Linked DNA regions of Homo sapiens: regions 2, 3, 4, 5, 6 and 7 are each linked to region 1. Evidence: promoter capture Hi-C in 16 types of primary human blood cells and fetal thymus (Javierre and others, 2016). All regions are on one chromosome and are shown on one strand. Each heading gives the region's core, a stretch centred on a gene start or on the middle of the fragment in contact. The rest is flanking DNA. Distances are from core to core; before and after follow the strand shown. Region 1 holds the start of SPRY2 (sprouty RTK signaling antagonist 2). Region 2 overlaps LOC124903241 (a long non-coding RNA gene). Region 3 has its middle 41 kb from the start of LINC01038. Region 4 has its middle 7.3 kb from the start of LINC01038. Region 5 has its middle 130 kb from the start of LINC00377. Region 6 has its middle 89 kb from the start of LINC00377. Region 7 has its middle 24 kb from the start of LINC01038.

Region 1 (2,700 bases), core at 101-2,600:
AAAAAACACACAAGAATCCAAATTAAAACACAGCAACAACAACAACAAAAGGAAATAAAAAATTGCCTATTTTGCCACCTACTTTCAGGTAATGGAAAATGATCGCGACCGCTTGATGACTTTCTTCCTGCGCTGGGTCAGCCCGAGCTTCCAAAAATAAAATAAGTGTGACCCAGGCTGACCACGAAGAACGGAAGAGAGAGAGCTGCACTTCCGAACCGCAGAGACCCGGCGCCAGGCAGGGCGACGCTCCCACCCGCTCCGGGCTAGACTGTCCACACGGAGCAGAGGCGGGCACTCCCTCCACCCGGCACCCTGCCTTTTTCTCACCCTGGAAGTCTCCTGCCCCCGAGGCGGGCAACCTGTGTCCCCCAGCCCCACCAGCGCCCCGCCTAGGGACAGCCTCTCCCTGGACTTTGCCTTCCACCAAGAGGAAGAACAGGTTAGAAATGCGGGCGCCTGCAAAGGCAACCTGGAAAATACAAAGTGTTTTTCTCTCCCTCTCCCGCTCTCAGCGCCGAATTCGCGGCCAGTGCACGGCTGGGAGCAGACTTCAGGCTAGCTGTCCTCCGTCCCAACCCCCTAGAGCGCGGGCGCGCGGGGTCGCCTGTCGGGGACACTGCACGGGGTGCATACAGAAGTCCCCGCAGAGGCAGGCCGAGCCCAAGCCCCGGGCGAGGCAGGTCCGCGGGGAGCGCCCCGGATCCTCGCGAAGACCCTGCGGGATTTGAGAAAGGGAGGCTCGGGGAGAGACGGACCCAACTCCTGGTCCGGCTGCACCTACTCCATGTTGCCCACAACGCGCCGGCCGCGGCGCCAGGAGGGGAAGAGCCAAACGTGCCTCACCGTGATCGCGGCTTTGCACCAACCCCTCTCCCTTGGATTCTCTTCTTTCTGCGATGTGCAAATAAATCCAGTCTCGATGCAAACTTTTTTCCTTTCTTTCCAACCTCTGCTTTAGACCAACTTCCGAGCAATCGGCGGGAGAAAAAAAGAGAATTCGGAGCCAGATTCCCCGCTGATGAACACTCCGGGGTTCGGAGCTGGAGACGACTCCCCTTCTACAAGCGCACGCGGAGTATTTCCTCTTTTTTCTCAATGAACAAGAGGCCGAAGCGCCAACGGCAAGTCCCTTTTCCTGGCAGATGAGCGAATGGGAAAAGAAAACGGCCTTACGGAGAACCTAAAGCCAGATCGCCAAGTGGTGCGGCCGGGGCCGCGTCGTAGCGGAGGCGGCGCGGGGGCGCGGGCCGGGCCGGGCCGGGCGGGCGCGGGGGCCTGGGCGCTGCGCGCTCCGCCGGCCCCTCTCCTCCGCTAGCGCTGCGGCGCGCAGCTCTCGGCGGTGCAGACTGGGCGTTGTGGAGGCGAGGCAGCGAGGCCGAGGCGGGGGCGGTGGGTGCGGAGGAGGAGGAAGAGGAGGAGGAGGAGGAGGAGGAGGGTCTGGGGCCCGCCCGGGGGGGGCTCGCCGTTGGCCTGCGCCCTCGCCTTTCCGGAGGAGGCAGGGAGCTCTGCGGCGGCCGCGGCAGCAGTAAATGGCGTCATGTGGATCCGAGGCGGAACAGAGCAGTTGTTGTCCCAGAGGATATATCGCATCCGGTCCCAGCTCATTGGCTCCGCGGGGCTACATTCACTCACACTCCAGCGCCCGCCAGCGCTCCGAGCCGCAGGAGGCATTCAAAAGGGCAACCGCGCCGCCCCGCGCGTCCCCAGGCCGGTCCTGCCGCCCGAGCGCCGTCACGCGGGGCGCCCGCGGGGCCGGGCTGGGCACTGCAGGGTCAGTTTATCTAGTTTCAAGGAAACACTGACCTTAAGGTTTGCCCAGAGGCAATGAGGACGAGCCAGAGGCTCGAGCTGACTTAGGGAACTTTCTCCTTGCCACCAGGAAAGGGGAATGAACATTTAAGACTAATCTGGGCCACGCAGTGTTAGCATGAAAAACAAGTTGCAGGTTTTAAGACTTTATCCAGAATCCATTTCAAGTCTACCTCTCCCCTTTTCTGTTCCCCTTTGCGGAGCGGGTGACGGGGGCTGGGGCGGGGGGAGAAGAAGGGGGAGGGGAAGGGGAGCGGGAAGTGAGGTGGGAGGGCTATTGGTTTATTCTTTGTCTACTGGATTAACCCGATTATACACCAGGCACCAGCACAAACCGCCTCCCCCACCTCCGAGCCTTGTACGGGAGGAACGGAATGCAGATTCGAGTTTCAAGTACCTTCTGCTCTTGCTGGGATTTGCTTTTGATTGTGTCGACTTGTAGTTTTTCCGTTTATTAGAATTTCATTTTTAAGGGGGGTTATCTATGAATGGAGGCTTTTTGAAGAGCTTCCTTACTATTTTGCTTCATGCAGTAGCTAAAGTCTACAGTCTAAGCCTTTTAACTTAATTCATTAATAGACAGGAACAAGATTACTCAGGGCGACAGCATGGGCTTCCGAAATGGGGGGGCGGGGGGGAGGGAAGGGTTGGCTCACTGCAGATTTCCTTCTTCCCTTAACTAAAAGTCATCCTTCATTTCCCACTTTTCTTGCCACCTAGAACATTTCTCAAGATTCTGTTGTCCATGTTGAAGGTGCACTATTCTTTCCCATTTACAAAAAAAAAATAAAGATAGAAAATGCATACATATGCACTGTCCTAGCTGCCGTTCATTTACTAAGAAATGTGCCTTCACGTGGGAGCACCAGTGGAAAATTAAAACTTGCG
Region 2 (2,700 bases), core at 128-2,627, 570 kb after region 1:
TGCCCTGATTGTAAGTTTCCTGAGGCCTCTCCAGAAGCAGAAATCTGGAAAGTCTGCAGAACTGTGAGCAGATTAAACCATTTTTCTTTATAAATTACCCAGTCTCAGGTATGTCTTTATAGCAATGTGAGAACTAATACACTCAGACTGAGAAAAGTTAGTGACTTATCTAACAATATATAATACCTCTCAATTCAGTTTTCTTATTATTCTGAGGAAATGTTTTAAACACATGTGAGTTTGAAAGTAAAGTAAATTATAGTAAATTTAGGCACATTATTATAATAAGAAAAAGTACTCAAAAGGTAATTGCAATAGTTTATGAATATTAACATAGTCTAAAATGTGTACCACACATTCACTTTCTCTAAACCTATTAAATGGAATCAAGATTCTGAAAAAAACTGCAAGAAAACAATTATTTATGTCCAGTGTTGTCTTAAAATGTCATTGTAAATTGCAAGATTATTTATTCCTTTTTTTGTTTTTTATTTCGTGTTTAGTTGACCAGATGTTATCCACAGATAACTTCCCATAAGAATTAAATATAGAGCCAAAAGTATTGCATTAAAAATATTGTCAGTGAGATAGAAATCCAGGAACTGTATGTGAGAAACCTTAATCCTTCTCTTTATTTCACAAGTTGGGAACAAGTTCCAGTAGTAAGTAGGCAGGTGGTGTAATGAATATTTTACTATATAAGAAAATCCAGAAGTTACTTTCAGCTCTAGGTCTGCCATGTAAAAGCTTTGGGACTATGAATAAATTATTTAATTTTTAAATCACACTGTCCTCATCTGCAAAATAAAATATACTAGCCTAAAATAAAAATAATCTAGTCTAAATGCACTTTAAGATCCTTTTTAGCTTTAACTTTACTTTTGTAGAAAGCTTCAGAGGGATTTTGACATGCATTAAGGGATAATGGGATAATTTCACTAAATGTGTTAGAATGAGGAAAATAAAATTCGTTATTAGTGCATCAGGAACATAAAGAAATGTTGAATGGATTTTCCATGGGAGACAACAATGGCTCCATCCAAGGTTATAGGAAAAAAAATAAAGTGATAGAATATATCTTCGAAAGTAGCTTTTAACATATGTGCAGAGAATTGACACGGCACTAAGATATTTATATTTTAATCTATTATTCTGGTAATATTGCACAATATGGGGCTTGAATCACATGACATTCAAAAATAGGTTTGGTAAATCATTTTGAACTTCATTTTGAACATGTCTGCATGGACATAGGAAATGGAATGTTGAGTCTGTTTAAGAGGTTTAAGAGAGAAGAAGAAACAAGTTAGGGAGAGATTCTAGGGAAAGGGGACGCAGGCAAGAGGGGTATGTATTCACAACATTGTATTACTCCCTTATAACAGGGACTCTTGCAGACTGAGATTACATTTTGGAAGAGAGAGAGTTGAAATTAATGTTGACTTCTGGAAATCAAGCCTTATATTAGGTCACAAATGTACCAAAGAGGTACAAATGAAGAAATAATAAATGAAATAATTTATAAGACAGGTTATATGTGTGGAGGGAAACTCTCTGCATGCTGCATAAGTAGGAGTTCTGGAAAATGCCAACTCTTTTCTCATGTGTTACTTTAGACATCATTCCTCCATTAAGCCATTCTGAACCTATCTAAGTCTGGATTTTGTGCCCTCTGATAGACCGGGACAAATGTAGCCCATAAGAACTTGTATCAGTCACGATTGTCTTTATGCTTGCCTTTTCCCCCACTCAGAAGGTGCACAGGCAGGTTTTATCTTAAGCATTGTTGGGCATTGCACTTAGCTCCATTTTTGCCATGTAGTAGGCTGACACAATGAACTAATGGTCTGTGGTGGCAGAAATTAAGCTTGTTTGCAAAGAAACACAATATAACAATAACAATAAATACATCAAAAAATAGATGTGAAAACAGAAGTGAAGTGGTTAAAAGCTAGGGTTCTGATGAGGAGGAGTGTTTCTTATATAAGATGAACCTATTACTGTGTCATCAAGAATCAGTATCTTCATGATTTTCAGCCTTAGTTTCCAAATTTGTAAAACGGAGACAACAACAATGTCTATCTCATAGGGGATTTTAGAAGTTGAAATGAAATAATACATGCTCATGTATAACCTATGTATATGTAATACAAGACTAAGTGCTCAAAAATGTTTACCATTTTTATTAACCATAACTTCTCCTATAAATGTCATTAGAATACAGAAAAACAAGGAAGGATTTTCTCACAACAATTAAGTGTGTTAAAAGTAATATAGATTATTTTGTATCAGGAAGAAATTTCATCCAGCGTAAACACTTTTCATTTCAAAAAGTATGAGATTAGAAATTGTATTCTTTCAAAACTGTAGTCAGACTGTATATTTCCAGTGCCTGGCACATATCTGTCAAATATGCAAAGCCATTTCGTTTCATTTTTTTTTTATTATTATGCTTTAACTTCTGGGATACATGTACAGAATGTGCAGGTTTGTTACATAGGTATACATGTGCTGTGGTGGTTTGCTGCACCCATCAACCCGTCATCTACATTAGGTATTTCTCCTAATGCTATCCCTCCCCCTAGCCTCCAACCCCTGACAGGCCCTGGTGTGTGATGTTCTGCTCCCCGTATCCATGTGTTCTCATTGTTCATCTCCCACTTATGAGTGAAAACATAGTGTTTGGTTTTCTGTTTCTGT
Region 3 (2,700 bases), core at 23-2,522, 580 kb before region 1:
TGTAATGTCTCCTTTTTCATCTCTGATTTTACGTATTTGGGTTGGCTCTCTCTTTCTGTCTAAAGGGTTGTCAATTTTGTTTATCTTTTCAAAAAATCAACTTTTCATTTTTGTTGATCTTTTATATTTATTTCATTTCAATTTCATGTATTTCTGCTTTGATCTTTATTATTTATTTCTACTAATTTTGGGTTTCATTCTCTTTTCTAGTTCTTTAAGACACATTTTTAGATTAGTTATTTGATGTTTTTCTTCTTTTTTGATGTAGGCTCTTATTGCTTTCCTCTAGTATTGCTTTCACTGTATCCTATAGGTTTTGGTATGTTGTGTTTCCATTTTCCATTTTCATTCTTTTCCAAGAAATTTTAAATTTTAAATTTTAATTTTTTTATTGACTCACTGGTTGTTCAGGAGCATCTTATTCAATTTTCACGTGTTTGTATACTTGTTCTTGCTATTGATTTCTTGTTCTGTTGTAGTCAGAGAAGATATGTGATATGATTTTAATTTTTTAAAATGTTTTAAGTTGAGTTTTGTGGCCTAACATGTGGTCCGTCCTCAAGAATGATTCATGTGCTAAGGAGAAAAATGTGTATTCTGCAGCCATTGGATGAAGTGTTTTGTAAATATGTATTAGATCCATTTGGTCTATTGTATAGATTAAGTCCAATGTTTCTTTGTTGATTTTATGTCTGGAAATTCTGTCCAATGCTGAAAGTGGGGTGTTGAAATCTCCAGCTATTTTACTGGGGGCCTATCTCTCCTTATAGCTCCAATAATATTGCTTTATATATTTAGGTGCTGCAGTGTTGGATGTACGTGTGTGTGTGTGTGTGTTTGTGTGCATATATATATGTATGTGTGTATATATATGTAACAATTATAAATATTTTTGTTTATTTCATTTCAATTTCATACATTTCTGCTCTGACCTTTATTATTTATTTTCTTTAATATTTATGTAGATGTATTTATAATTGTATCCTATTGCTAAATTGACCCCTTTGTTATTATATAATGACCATCTTTGTGTCTTTTTATAGTTTATGTCTTGAAATCTATTTTATCCTATATAAGTATAGCTACTCCTGCTCTTTTTTGTTTCCATTTGTGTGGGATATCTTTTTCCCATGCCTTTATTTGCAGTCTATGTGTGTCTTTATAGGTGAAGTGTGTTTCTTGTAGGCCACAGATCATTGGATCTTGTTTTTTTTAATCCCTTCAGCCACTCTTTTGATTAGAGAGTTTAGTTCATTTACATTCAATGTTATTGATAAGTAAGGACTTACTCCTGCCATTTTGATATTTGATACTGGTTTTTTTTTTATTTTGTGGTCCTTCCTTCCTTCCTTCCTTCTTACCGTCCATCTTCCTTTTAGTGAAGGCAATTTTTCCAGGTGGTATGTCTTAATTTTTTAATTTTTATTTTTTTTGCGTGTATTTGTTGTAGGTTTTTGGATTTGAGGTTACCATGAGGCTTACAAATAACATCTTATAACCCATTATTTCAAACCGATGACAACTTAACACTGATTGCAAAAACTAAGATAAAACTAACAAAAACTATATACTTTAATCTCATCACACTCACTTTAACTTTGTTTCTATTTATATCTTGTTATATTGTCTAGGTCTTGAAAAGTTGTCATAATTACTATTTTTGATAGGTTCATCTTTTAGTCTTTCTACTCAAGATATGAGTAGTTTACACACCACAATTTCAGGGTTATAATATTCTATGTTTGTCTGTGTATTCACTATTGCCAATGAGTTTTGTACCTTCACATGATCTCTTATTGTTTGTTAATGTTTTCTTTCAGATTGAAGAACTCCCTTTAGCATTTCTTGTAAGACAATTCTGGTATTGATGAAATCCCTCAGCTTTTGTTTGACTAGGAAAGTCTATTTCTTCTTCATGTTTAAAGGATATTGTTGCTGGATGTGCTATTCTATGATAAATTTTTTTTTCTTCCTTTAGCACTTTAAATATGTCTTGCCACTCTCTCTTGGCCTGGGAGGTTTCCACTGAGAAGCCTGCTGCCAGACATTGGCATTCCATTGTATGCTATTTGTTTTTTTTCTCTTGCTGCTTTTAGGACCCTTTATCTTTGAACTTTGGGAGTTTGATTATTCATTGTCTTGATAGTATTATTTGGGTTAAATCTGCTTAGTATTCTACAACCATCTTGTACTTTAGTGTTGATATCTTTCTCTCATTTTGGAAAGTTATCTGTTATTCAATCAAATAAAATTTTTACCCCAGTCTGTCTCTCTTCCTCCTCTTTAAGGCTAATAACTCTTAGATTTGCACTTTTGAGGCTATTTTCTAGAACTTGTAGGTATGCTTCATTCATTTTTATTCTTTTTTCTTTCATTTCCTCTGACCATGTATTTTCAAATAGCTTGCTTTCAAGCTCACCAATTCTTTCTTCTGCTTGATCAGTTCTGCTGTTGAGAGACTCTGATGCATTGTTTAGTGTGTCAACTGAATTGCAGCTGAAATTAGTGGGTTTTTGTTTGTTTGTTTGTTCTTTTGTTTGTTTTTTTTTGACATAGAGTTTCACTCTTGTTGCCCAGGCTGGAGTGCAATGGCACAATTTCGGCTTACTGCAACTTCCGCCTCCCAGGTTCAAGCGATTTTCCTGCCTCAGCCTCCCAAGTAGCTGGGATTACAGGCATGTGCCATCATGCCCAGCTAAT
Region 4 (2,700 bases), core at 201-2,700, 540 kb before region 1:
CCCTGGTTGGGTAATGAATCCCACTTATTCAGATGAAAAGTTCCGAGTAGGCAAAATCGTCATTTTCTACCTTTCCCCAGTTTTTTTCTCACCATAAAATAAGTTCCACTGAACTTTTTCTGTTCACTTATATCTATTATTGATCTGCTCAACCAAATTTGCAAAATTGAATGTTAAGCCCTTGGCACTGGCCAATGGCTTGTGTATTTTAAAAAGTACACAGTAGTTTAAGATGTTCATAATGTATCATTCATTTGTTGGAGGGTGGATGTATGCTCAATTTTCCAAGTAAAAAGTTACAAAAAATTTTCTTAAAAGATATATTCTTTAAGGTATCTACTAACTAATAGAATTCCACAAAAATGCTCTCAGAGTAGAGTGAAGTAAGTTACCATTATCCTGTTTGGTTGTAAAATTAAATAATCCCAAGTGTTTTGAATTGGATAAGGACTTTAAAGCTCATGTAATCAAACTCTCACCTTTCAAGTGAGGAAGTAGAGGCTGAGAAACAATGGAACTAGCCTACACCCACACCCACACATCCTGGTGGCCAAGTGAGGCCCAGACCCCAATCACTGGCATCCCAGCTCCATGCTTTCCCCACTGTGTGACCAGCATGACAGATGTCTCCTGATCAGAAAACCAGAGCACTTCAGAGAGCAGTTGTCTGACACTACGGGTGATATGTGAGCCAGCTGCATGGCATATGCTTTGTGTTCCTTAGAGAAAATTTCAGAAGCTCAACTGTTTATAGACATAGGGCACATTTTTGGATGCATAGGTCATTCGGAAATGGCAAAGATGCTCTTCAGGGTCACAGATCTGGCTTCAACACCTGCAATTTGTGTAGGTGACAAGTGGATCTTTGATGAAAGGTAGAGACATTTATAGGAAAGGAAGAATGTAAATTGTTCGCCATGCAAATATTTACCTGAATTGTCTTCCCTTAGTGAAGGAAGTATTTTAAGCAGGATCACTTGCTTCTGTGGTGTGAACTCCCTTATAGACTGATCAGTCTTGTCCTGCTTCCTTCAGAATACTGTGTGATACCATGATTGAGATGGCAACATGTTCAACGAGTGCTGCTCAATTGTTACATAGGTGTCTTGTGGCCATGTTTCCAAACCTCAAATCAAGACACAGTTTGAGTAGCCTGACTGTGCTCAGTGTGCCTATGAAAAAGAATATTTGAAACTATGCTGTTCATAGAATTCTGCAGTGAATGATTACCTTGACTATGCAGCTAAAGAGATGTTCATGGAAGAAAACGGGGATGGCTTTAGAAAGAATTTTGTGAAAAGACTTTAAAAAAAATGATGCACTCCAATTCTGCCTCTAATTCTCAAAAATGACACCCATATAGGTATCCAGAAGATACCTCTGCTATGAGTCCACAGTCCTCCTATTAAAGAGTCATTTTAACCATGAAATTGCAAAAATTTTAAGTGTACAGTTTGTTTAAAATTATGCAATTTGATTGTAAGTACTAAAGGCTCAAGTTCCAGTTGATTAAGAAATGACATTAGAAGCGTTCATAACCCCTTTGTATAAAATAGATACATAAGCACATATTTAGCTCTAAAATAATATTTGGATTGGTTTTGCCTCTTTGGTTCCCACTGGGTAGAATAAAATATACTGTCATGATATAGAAGAAAGACATATATACAAATATCTCCTTTTTTTCTTGGCGCTATGGCCATATGAACTTCAGGAAGGGAAGTTTTGATTCCTGAGCGCTAGCTGGAGTGCTGTTTTTGTGGCACCCTCCGCAAGACATCAAAATACAGTAGGGTTTTCTGGGATGAAATCTACAGAGCAGATCATAAAGGCTGCTTCTGTAAGGATGAATTTCTTATGGAAAATTCCTAAATATTTTGTGGAACTGAAGGAATGATACTCCACTCTATTGCAAGGGATTTGAGGATGACCCAAAGGTTGGGAATTAGGAGCAGCAATAATTTTTCTGGGGATTGCTCAGGCACATGGAAATGAACAAGGGCACTTCAGGAATACTTTCTGGCTCCTATCTCTGTTTTTGACTGCAGTGCATTCCCAGAATCAAAGTCTTCCATCCCCATTCCTTCTATTTTAGAGTCCTTGAATACAGGATCATTAACAATTTCCCAGAGCAATTTAATATAATAGAATTAACTCCTAGAAGAGAAGGGAGGTAAGAAGAGGAGGGAATCTGTAAAAGAAATCATGCTGCTCAAACAAAAATAGTGTTGAGCTTTCCAATAAAATTCCATTGAAATGACAATGTGCTCCCTGAACTCAGTTAAAATAGTTTAGTGGTTATAAGCAGATTATTTGGATTCTGTATTATTACCTATTTGTCCTTAGCCCATTGTTCAATCACCTTACACCTCAGTTCCCTGATCTATAATCTGGGAAATAACAAGGTCTCTCTCACAGGACTATTATCAGGATCAAATGAGACAAAGTACCTAGTTCAAAGCACATTTACAGGCTTACACCTGTAATCTCAACACTTTGGGAGGCCAAGACAGGCAGATTGCTTGAGTCCAGGAGTTTGAGACCAGACAGGACAATATAGTGAGATCTTGTCTCTACAAAAAGAAAATTTAAAAAATTCACTGGATGTGGTGATGCACACCTGTAGTCCTAACTACTCAGGAGGCTGAGATGGGAGGATAGTTTGAGCCCAGGAGGCAAAGTTTGCAGTGAGCTGACATT
Region 5 (2,776 bases), core at 24-2,523, 540 kb after region 1:
ATTAGTTTTAAGAGCAAGGCAAAGGCTTTTTTTCTCATACTATAAAAAGATTTTAACAGATTGCATATTTTTGAGCAGAAACTATGCTCCATCTGCCTCCACTGGCACTGAATAGTACACTACCTGTCACAAAAGAGTGTGAATTCTAGTTTAATTGATTCCAGAGCAGTTCTGTGTTTTTATTGTCACATAGAAACCAAGTGTTTAGGATTCATATACACCCCCAAGTCTGATCACAGGCAAATTGTGCAATGATCATTGTTTCTAAGGTTCATATTTATTAAGCTTGTGTGCTCAGGGGGCTACCCTAAAACTGATTATGTCTTCGTTTCCTCTATCTTCTCTAACAGCTAAAGGTCTATGATTACAAGGCATTTCTTGCCAAGGCGTTGTCTTTCATAAGTCAATAGACATTTGCAGGCTTTTGCCTACTTATGATTGTGGGGTTTCCCTACAGCTTACTCTGTTATCTTAGAAAAAAATGTTAAGTATCTTTTCTAAGACTGGATATTTCTTAGATATACATATAGTAAGGAGTAGACTGTTGCAAATTTATGGGAAGAGATGAAAAGAGGGCAGATATTATGCAAGTCTCCATCAAGTTATTTAAACAGTAATACATTTGAACTCTTCTTTAAAAGTAAAATTATGTCTTTATTATCCTGCATATACCTAAATGTAGTTCTATATTTGGGGAAAGATTAGATTAGAACTAAAGGGCACATTCTTCAGGAAAATGTCTGACATATAACCACTTGCTGTTCCTTATTTATGTATTTCTCTATATCAAACTTAAAGAAAGATATAGAGAAGTTATTCACATAGACTTTGTATAATGAGGAGATTCCTCCCTTCTTCCTGAGCACAGCAGAATGGAGATGGTCAATGGGGCCACAAACGAACTCTTGGGAATGAGCAGATTAACACTTTTCCTAAAAAAAAAGAGTGATAAATTATCTAAATTCTTCAAAATGCTTTTTAAATTTGGTTGAAATTTTAGAATTTTTAAAATTCTGACAATAGTAAAATGCCAATTGTTAGAGGTGTTCCTGTTTATGTGTTTGGTTTAGGTTAATACTGTGTTACCCAATGTGACTAATCTTTGAATTATTAATGTAATGTTCATAACTTTTGCTAGCAACTCACCCAGAATGGTCAACTCTTTGTTATTGTGTAGTATTTATCACCTATTCTAAGGCATTATAGTATTTATTATTTTGACAAATTTTCAAATATAAGTGCTAGTCTCTAAAGCAATGGTTTATAAGCCATATCTTTTAGACATTACTATTCTAATATAGATCTTTTCCCATTAGATTCAAAACAACTTGAGCTTCCTTTCCAACAGAAGTCTCTACTACCTTTCAAGTTGCCATATAACTTGAAATGTATTTACTATTCCTTTTTGATGAACAAAAGAGGTCCGGTTTCACAAATGCTTATCAAGTTCAATATTAGGTGAGATTCTGTATTAGGCAAAGACGAATAAAATGAGATTACAGTGTACTGGGAGAAACATACATATACAAATAAATTATAATGAGATTTCTGCTTTGGGCCAAGATGGAGTAGAAGAAACAAGATTTACCCTCATGACTAAAACAAGAAAATAAGAAACAAAAAATATAAAGCAATGGATCTCGACATTACCCCTCAAGCAACAATGGCAGTTATGTGAGTGAGACAGAAAACAAATGAGGTGAGTTCTGTGATTGCTCTAGCCTACACGTTTCTGGAACTTAGGGCAGAGCAAGGACCCAGGGAGAACCTGGCAGTCTCCCTGAGTTTAGAAAATGAATCCGAAAACTCAGGGAAGTCAAAACACCTAGAGTTTGAAAAGAAAAGCATGGGAGAGGAAAGAAAAGCAAAGAGAGAGAACTGCAGAGAATTTATCTCACAAGTGTTCAATTGAAGGCTGATCAGTACATGTGTGTAAGGAAACCAACCACCTTAAATCATTAAAGGCGACAGTGTCCCGGACTTATAAAGGACCAGCAGTAGTGCCAGTTTCCAATATCTAGAGAAGAAAACCTCATAATTCACAGAATATCAGATAGTATACTCAGAAGAATATGCTTCAGTAGTGGAAAACATTAACCCTGACAAAAGGCTATGCTCATTCTTCTTAGGAAAGCATTAAGACAAGAGATCTCAAAGAGTGAACGCTTTCCAATTAACTTAAATGCCTTGTAGAACAAAGGAATCAAAAAATATCCTGGCCCAAATAAGATAAAATTCATGATGCATGTAATAGAAATTATGAAGCTTAATATAAAGAATAGAAATTATGAAGCTTAATATGAATTATTAATAGAAATTATGAAGCTTAATATAAAGAAGCAAGGAAATGTAAGCCATAATGAGAAAAAAAATCAATTAAAAATGATTCGGAAAAAAGGGGATGGAGTCAATAAAGAGTGAAAGAATAGTTTTTACAATTGTATTCAATATGTTCGAGAAGCTAAAGGCCAGATTGGACATGTAAAGTGCAGACATGAAAGAGGTAAAACTAAAACATCTCAAGTCTAAAACAGATAACAATCTGCAATGCCTAACAGAAAAATACAGTGAGTAGAGTTAACAGCATTTTGCAGAAGAAAAGCACAGTAAATTTCAAGACATAACAATAGAAACTATTCAAAAGGAAATACAGAAAGAAAAAAGATTTTAAAAAACGAACAGAATATCAGTGAACTGTGGGACAATTCAATTCAGCCAAATGTATGTAAATACAGTCAGAAAATGACAGGGTGGGGTGAGGTGACGGAAAAAAAAT
Region 6 (2,700 bases), core at 148-2,647, 590 kb after region 1:
TTATTATTTATTTGACATTGTACAAGTTAAGTAAATTTGCGTGCTGTAAGTATCTGTACTAGGGCTTGTTAAGAAAATTGTTTATTGACAAGTTTGACATACTTAATACACAGCAGCTATTATTATTAGCGTTATTTTTATTCTATTAACGTTCCTGGAAAACAAGTCAGCTCATACACAAAGGCACACCTACACATGCACACATGAAGAAGGTCAAAGTATTATGAAAACAAAATCCAAAAAAGTTACTGTATCTTGTATGTGAAGCTATGAATTATACACAATAAGCTTTTCAAAAAAGGAAAATATTTATAGATCCGTCTACATAAATTTCAAAATCCTTTGCACAAAAATATATGGCAATCTTGGCTTACCTTAAAATTGAAATGACCAAATATACTGTTAAAATAGAAAAGAATCTCTATTTATGCAAGAACTTAAGAAAATATGACATGTATAAAAGTTTGGGATACTTCAGATGACGTAATTTAAGAGCAACCTGCCTAAGGGAGGGACGATTTATCTACTAGATACAATATGAGAAATAAAACTTCACATACTTAGTTTGACTGCTCCCATAAAAACCTTTTAAAAATAGATATGGCTGTACTTCCTTCTTCACTTCCTCCCTCTGTCCCTCTCTCTCTTCATTCCTTCCTGAATAATTAAGTGAAAAATAATAATAAGAAGGCAATTCCAAGTGAGGAAGGGAATTCAGCAGAGGTCAGAATGATGCTGTGCTGGTAAACAGATTATCTGAAAAAAAGCACTGATTTGTAGCATTTGCCAATTTCTGTAATGTCAATACACCAATCATAGCTGATTTCAAGCTACTGACAATTCAATAACTGTCTTGTATCATTTATAAATTCTTAAAAATCAGCTCCTGTGAGCCTGAATGAGCCAACTACAGCACATCATGGGGTCAAAGCCCCTGAGAAGGTGAGTACATAGCCAAAGGTCAAGAGATTGATTATGGATTAGTTGTGGCCTGGAGCTGGTTCCACTGACTTGTGAGAAGTCAGTTGTGTGTATCTCTTCCCAACTGTGCTTTCAATGAATTCAAGTTGATAATCTGAAATCAGCTATGGTGGGAATATTTATATTACAGAAAATTGACAAAGATTAAAAATCAGGGATGTTGTGAGCCTTTTTTTGCATAAAGAGATTGGAAATAAAATTCTATAATAACTGAAAATAGTTGGGTCTGAAAAGCAATAAAGTATATTAAAATTTCTGGCAAACTTGTTCAATTTTTATGGGTTTATTCAGAAAATTTTTAATAAAGACTTAGGAATCTTTTACCACTAAATATTATGTTAATGCAAGACTATATTTTTTCCTTTGTTAAAATTAACACTGACCAGCACATCACTACATACAGGAAAGATGGCCAGTATTTGGGGTTAGGCTTCCCATGCTTGGAGATGAGTGTCACAAACTTGTCACAGGTCAAATCTAGGACAAATAAATAAATAAATGTGGATGAGCCAGGCAAAGAATAGCCAGGCACTGAGCAACATGACAAAACCCTGTGTCTACAAAAAAATAAAAAAATTAGCAGGGCGTGGTATCAAGCACCAGTGGTTCCACCTACTCAGGAGGCTGAAATAGGAGGATCACCAGAGCCTGGGAAGTCAAGGTGACAGTAAACCATGATTACACTACTACACTCAGCCTGGGTGACAGAGCGAGGCCCGGGTTCAAAAATAAATAAATAAATAAATAAAAACTAAAAATAGATAAAAATTGGAAAATTGGATCCTTTAGTTATAAAATGTAGAACTGGGCAGTTGATAAAATTTTAATGAGGCCTCTTGATTAGGGTATATGAGAATTCTTTGCATTATTCTTCTACCTCATTTAAAATTGTTTCAAGTTTAAAACTAGTTGAATAAAAAGTTAAAACCAAAATGAAATTTAAAATATAATAATTGAATAACAAAACAAAACAAAAATACTTTTGGCCTGTGAAAATCTTTGATTTTGTTGACTATCTTGAGTTTATCACATTTTTGGAATCATGTTTGATTGCAATTGAGTCTGATTTTAAGAGGAAAATAATTTATAATACATAGGAGTATACAAGCACTCACTTCAATTCCATTTTCAGAGTCATTCTGCTCTGACTCCAAACCCCATGGCATCTTGCAATGCAAAATGTACGTATATGGAGAAAAGTTTCGTTACTGACTTGTGCTTGAACATTATTTCTGTTGATATTTTAACTTATACATTGCCAATATGATTGATAACAGAGCTTTCCAAATTTGAAGTTATTTAAAAATTTGTATAAGTTGAAATAGATCCCTATTAGAGTAATACAGGAAATTAGAGGCATTACAAAGCAAATAGTTGGTTGAAGCATCAGAGAAATAACAAGAATAAGATCCAAAACACAAACGTCACTAGTCATTCAACCTATATGGGGGAAAAAAGTCTTTAACAGAAAATGAGAGAAGTTAGAAAATAACATTTTCCTGATAAGTACAATTTTATCGTATAGCAAGCTTTCATATTGTGGAAGTTAGGCCTTTAAAATACTAGGTTTCTACAAAAAGTGGCATACTCTTCCATTGATAGTAATTGGATATAATAAAAATAAATATAATTATGTCCTAGACTTTTCCACCCTTTGATGGAATTTTTTACTAGAAGCTTTTTAAATTTAAATTTAAAATTTTTAAATATTTTAGAGTG
Region 7 (2,700 bases), core at 38-2,537, 560 kb before region 1:
ACAGTTGTTGGTACTAAGTTTTTGGTGCTGAGACAGGAATTGTGCTACCTCCTCATTCAACCTAGATTTGGGAGGTGACAGACCCAGTGCAAGTCTACTCTTGCATTCTTATGCTTTGAAGAATCTTGAGATAAACTCTCAGAAATGGGCTAACTAGCCACAGGAAAGTTTGTTATCTTTAAAAGACTTAAACATCCCACCTTCATCCTTCCTTCATTTGGTCTTCACCTTGTCCAAGAGAAAACCAGTCAAAGGGCTCATTTAGAAACATTTTCATTCTGTTGAGACTGATTCAAACATTTTCCCAAAACTTCTTTCTAGACCAATCTGGTTTTCCTGCCAAGAAATTCACTCTCACTGCTCTGCTTCCTGGGATTTGGGCATTAGCTATTGGTCTCTTTCTGTGGTTTTCTCTGTTTTTGTCTCCATGTTCAGCTTACTTTCCTTAATAAATCTAAGTTATCTCACTCTTTGAAACTTCTTGGTCCACATTGCTCAAAAGCAGAGCCAGAGGAAAAGGCAGTTCATGTCTCATTACTGTGGCAGAGGTTTGGACACTCCCAGAGGGCTCTCTGTTCCTCCTCCTCCCGCTGGCTATTGCAACAGGTTCCTGGAGTCAGACAATGCATTATCATGAGGATTACACTGATCAGCTCTAAGTCAGTTAGGTAACAGGAGCTCTTTCAATGGTGTCCTAGGATTTTGTCAGGTTGACTGTTCAAACACTGGTTTTTGGGATCCCCTCCAGCATTCCTTAATGTAATCCAGGCATGTTATTGCAGGTTCTATTTGAGAAGGGGCTACTTACTTGTCACTTAGAATATTTTCAGTTTTAAGTCAAAACCTTTTCAGAAAAAAAAAGAAAAAAAAGACAAAAGATATGAGAGCCCATGTAGGAGAGGCAGAAAAGAACAAAATGCAGAAAAGTCTATCAAATGCCAAACTTAGGTTAAGTGCACGTGTGCTCCGGAGAATGAGGTTTCTGTTTTGTTTTACATAGAAACTGCGATGGTTTTGCACTGTTTTGGTAACTACTGAGTAACTACTAAGTCACTACTAAGATCCAGTGAATTCAAAGGCAGAGGAACACAGGCAAGAGTGCAGGTCTGAGCTGCTTAGAAGGCTCAGAGATGTGTGTCTGTGTTTGACCCTCAGTGGGAGGAAGTGCTATAGGCTCCTGGTGGATGCCCATTTTTTTACCATATTATGCTATTGGATACTATTAAGAAGACAGGCACATTTCTGGGTGCCAGGGAAGAGACAGTGGTTCCAGATGAGTCAGACTGCTGCTGTCACCTCCTCCCTGCTGGAAAAACAAGACTCAGAAGCGACTTGGAGATGTTCAGAACTTGGGGTGAAGGCGTAAAGAGATGAAGTTTTCAAAGACCAACCATTTGCCAATGCCCTTTAAGTAGATATGAGTTGTCATATTTTAGCATAGTTTTTCTGGACAGAACCCCTTTAGATCTCTACTGTGATGTGACAGGCTCTTCCCAAACTTGCATAGAGAAGTGAAGTGGCTAGGTACAGAGCAAGGGGAGAGAAGACACTGTCTATAGATTCCAACCAAGGACCTTTTCCAGACCTTACTCTCCCTTTTTTATTTCTCATCCATTGTAATCTCATCCTGGGGTGCTATAAAGATACATATCCCTGGGGTGCTACTTAAATTATGGGATATAAATATAACATACCCCAGAGTCACCTCCATTAAATCTAATGGAAATTCAGACTTCATGGAAATCAACTATGGCACTTTTCTTGAGTATTTCTGGATTATTTAGTAATAATATATATCTTTCTTAACCCCAGCCCCATATATATATATTATATTATATATATATACATATTATATAGATATACATATATACACACATTATATATATACATATATACATATATTATATATAATATATATTATATGTAATGTATATATGGATGCATTATTACTGTGCATGTATATATATACACACACACTCTCCAGGATGCATTATTACTGTGTGTATATATATATACATACACATACACAGACTTATATACAGCACTGAACATTCTGAATTAGTAATAATTTGTTCATTTTTTATCAGACTTTACTAACAGGTCAGGGTGATATGGCCCAGCCTGAGAGGCAATATGGCAAAATATAAAGTGCAGGCAGAGTAAAAAAAAGAAATGCTCTTCCTTTTAAAATGTAGCCATCATTTATGGCCTTGGGTAGTTGATATAAACTCTCCACAACTGAGGGTCCTAGTTGGTAAAAAAGGCTTCATAGACTTATTGTACATTACATTGCTGTTTATATATACATGTTTTTATATACATTCCTTTTAAATTGAAGTGTCATGCTCAGTGCCTGACACACTATAAGTATCCAATAAATGACATCTCCATTTTTCTTTCCATATAAGTTAAAGGCCTTCTTACAAGAATTGGTGCCTAAAAGAAATCAGTGTATGAATATTTTAAAAACTGAAGTGCTTTAAAGAATGCGTGTCTCCCACTCTAAATTTCCTTAGATCACTAGTCTTCTTTGCACTTAAAAATGTCATCAGTATACTATGTAGATTCTGCCTTTGATTTGTAGTGATTAGATAGGACTGGTGAATCATTAGCTAACTCATAAGATTGTTGAATACTTGGAGACAGTGAGACGCAAGCATATCTCTAGATCTCAGTTGGTCCAAGGTACATGTCTCTGCT

The links. Contacts are between HindIII fragments. The CHiCAGO score rates a contact against its expected background, and 5 or more counts as called.
Region 2: a fragment that was not itself captured here is called in contact with the fragment with the promoter of SPRY2 in region 1 in 2 of 17 cell types (naive B cells and megakaryocytes); the score reaches 7.1 in naive B cells.
Region 3: a contact is called between a fragment that was not itself captured here and the fragment with the promoter of SPRY2 in region 1, in 5 of 17 cell types (M0 macrophages, M2 macrophages, M1 macrophages and 2 more). The highest score is 10.4, in M0 macrophages.
Region 4: a contact is called between a fragment that was not itself captured here and the fragment with the promoter of SPRY2 in region 1, in 7 of 17 cell types (monocytes, M2 macrophages, M0 macrophages and 4 more). The highest score is 8.9, in monocytes.
Region 5: a contact is called between a fragment that was not itself captured here and the fragment with the promoter of SPRY2 in region 1, in 1 of 17 cell types (naive B cells). The highest score is 8.2, in naive B cells.
Region 6: a contact is called between a fragment that was not itself captured here and the fragment with the promoter of SPRY2 in region 1, in 3 of 17 cell types (endothelial precursors, erythroblasts and naive B cells). The highest score is 8.5, in endothelial precursors.
Region 7: a contact is called between a fragment that was not itself captured here and the fragment with the promoter of SPRY2 in region 1, in 10 of 17 cell types (M2 macrophages, M0 macrophages, M1 macrophages and 7 more). The highest score is 26.7, in M2 macrophages.

The regions. Positions count from the first base shown.
Region 1 is chr13:80,339,776-80,342,475 of GRCh38, forward strand. It overlaps SPRY2 (sprouty RTK signaling antagonist 2), which reads right to left and starts at 1,351. Exons shown (of 2, transcript NM_005842.4): 1 at 847-1,351. RefSeq lists silencers at 1,299-1,488, 1,719-1,768. The HindIII fragment of the contact is 9,098 bases long and covers 1-2,700 here.
Region 2 is chr13:80,909,238-80,911,937 of GRCh38, forward strand. LOC124903241 (a long non-coding RNA gene) reads left to right here. Exons shown (of 4, transcript XR_007063927.1): 4 at 1-2,490. Among named protein-coding and RNA genes, the nearest start is that of LINC00377, 110 kb to the right of the region's middle. The HindIII fragment of the contact is 976 bases long and covers 890-1,865 here.
Region 3 is chr13:79,761,797-79,764,496 of GRCh38, forward strand. No RefSeq gene overlaps it. Among named protein-coding and RNA genes, the nearest start is that of LINC01038, 41 kb to the right of the region's middle. The HindIII fragment of the contact is 6,861 bases long and covers 1-2,700 here.
Region 4 is chr13:79,795,692-79,798,391 of GRCh38, forward strand. No RefSeq gene overlaps it. Among named protein-coding and RNA genes, the nearest start is that of LINC01038, 7.3 kb to the right of the region's middle. The HindIII fragment of the contact is 3,823 bases long and covers 1-2,700 here.
Region 5 is chr13:80,884,507-80,887,282 of GRCh38, forward strand. No RefSeq gene overlaps it. Among named protein-coding and RNA genes, the nearest start is that of LINC00377, 130 kb to the right of the region's middle. The HindIII fragment of the contact is 1,980 bases long and covers 284-2,263 here.
Region 6 is chr13:80,927,969-80,930,668 of GRCh38, forward strand. No RefSeq gene overlaps it. Among named protein-coding and RNA genes, the nearest start is that of LINC00377, 89 kb to the right of the region's middle. The HindIII fragment of the contact is 2,222 bases long and covers 287-2,508 here.
Region 7 is chr13:79,779,391-79,782,090 of GRCh38, forward strand. No RefSeq gene overlaps it. Among named protein-coding and RNA genes, the nearest start is that of LINC01038, 24 kb to the right of the region's middle. The HindIII fragment of the contact is 4,415 bases long and covers 1-2,700 here.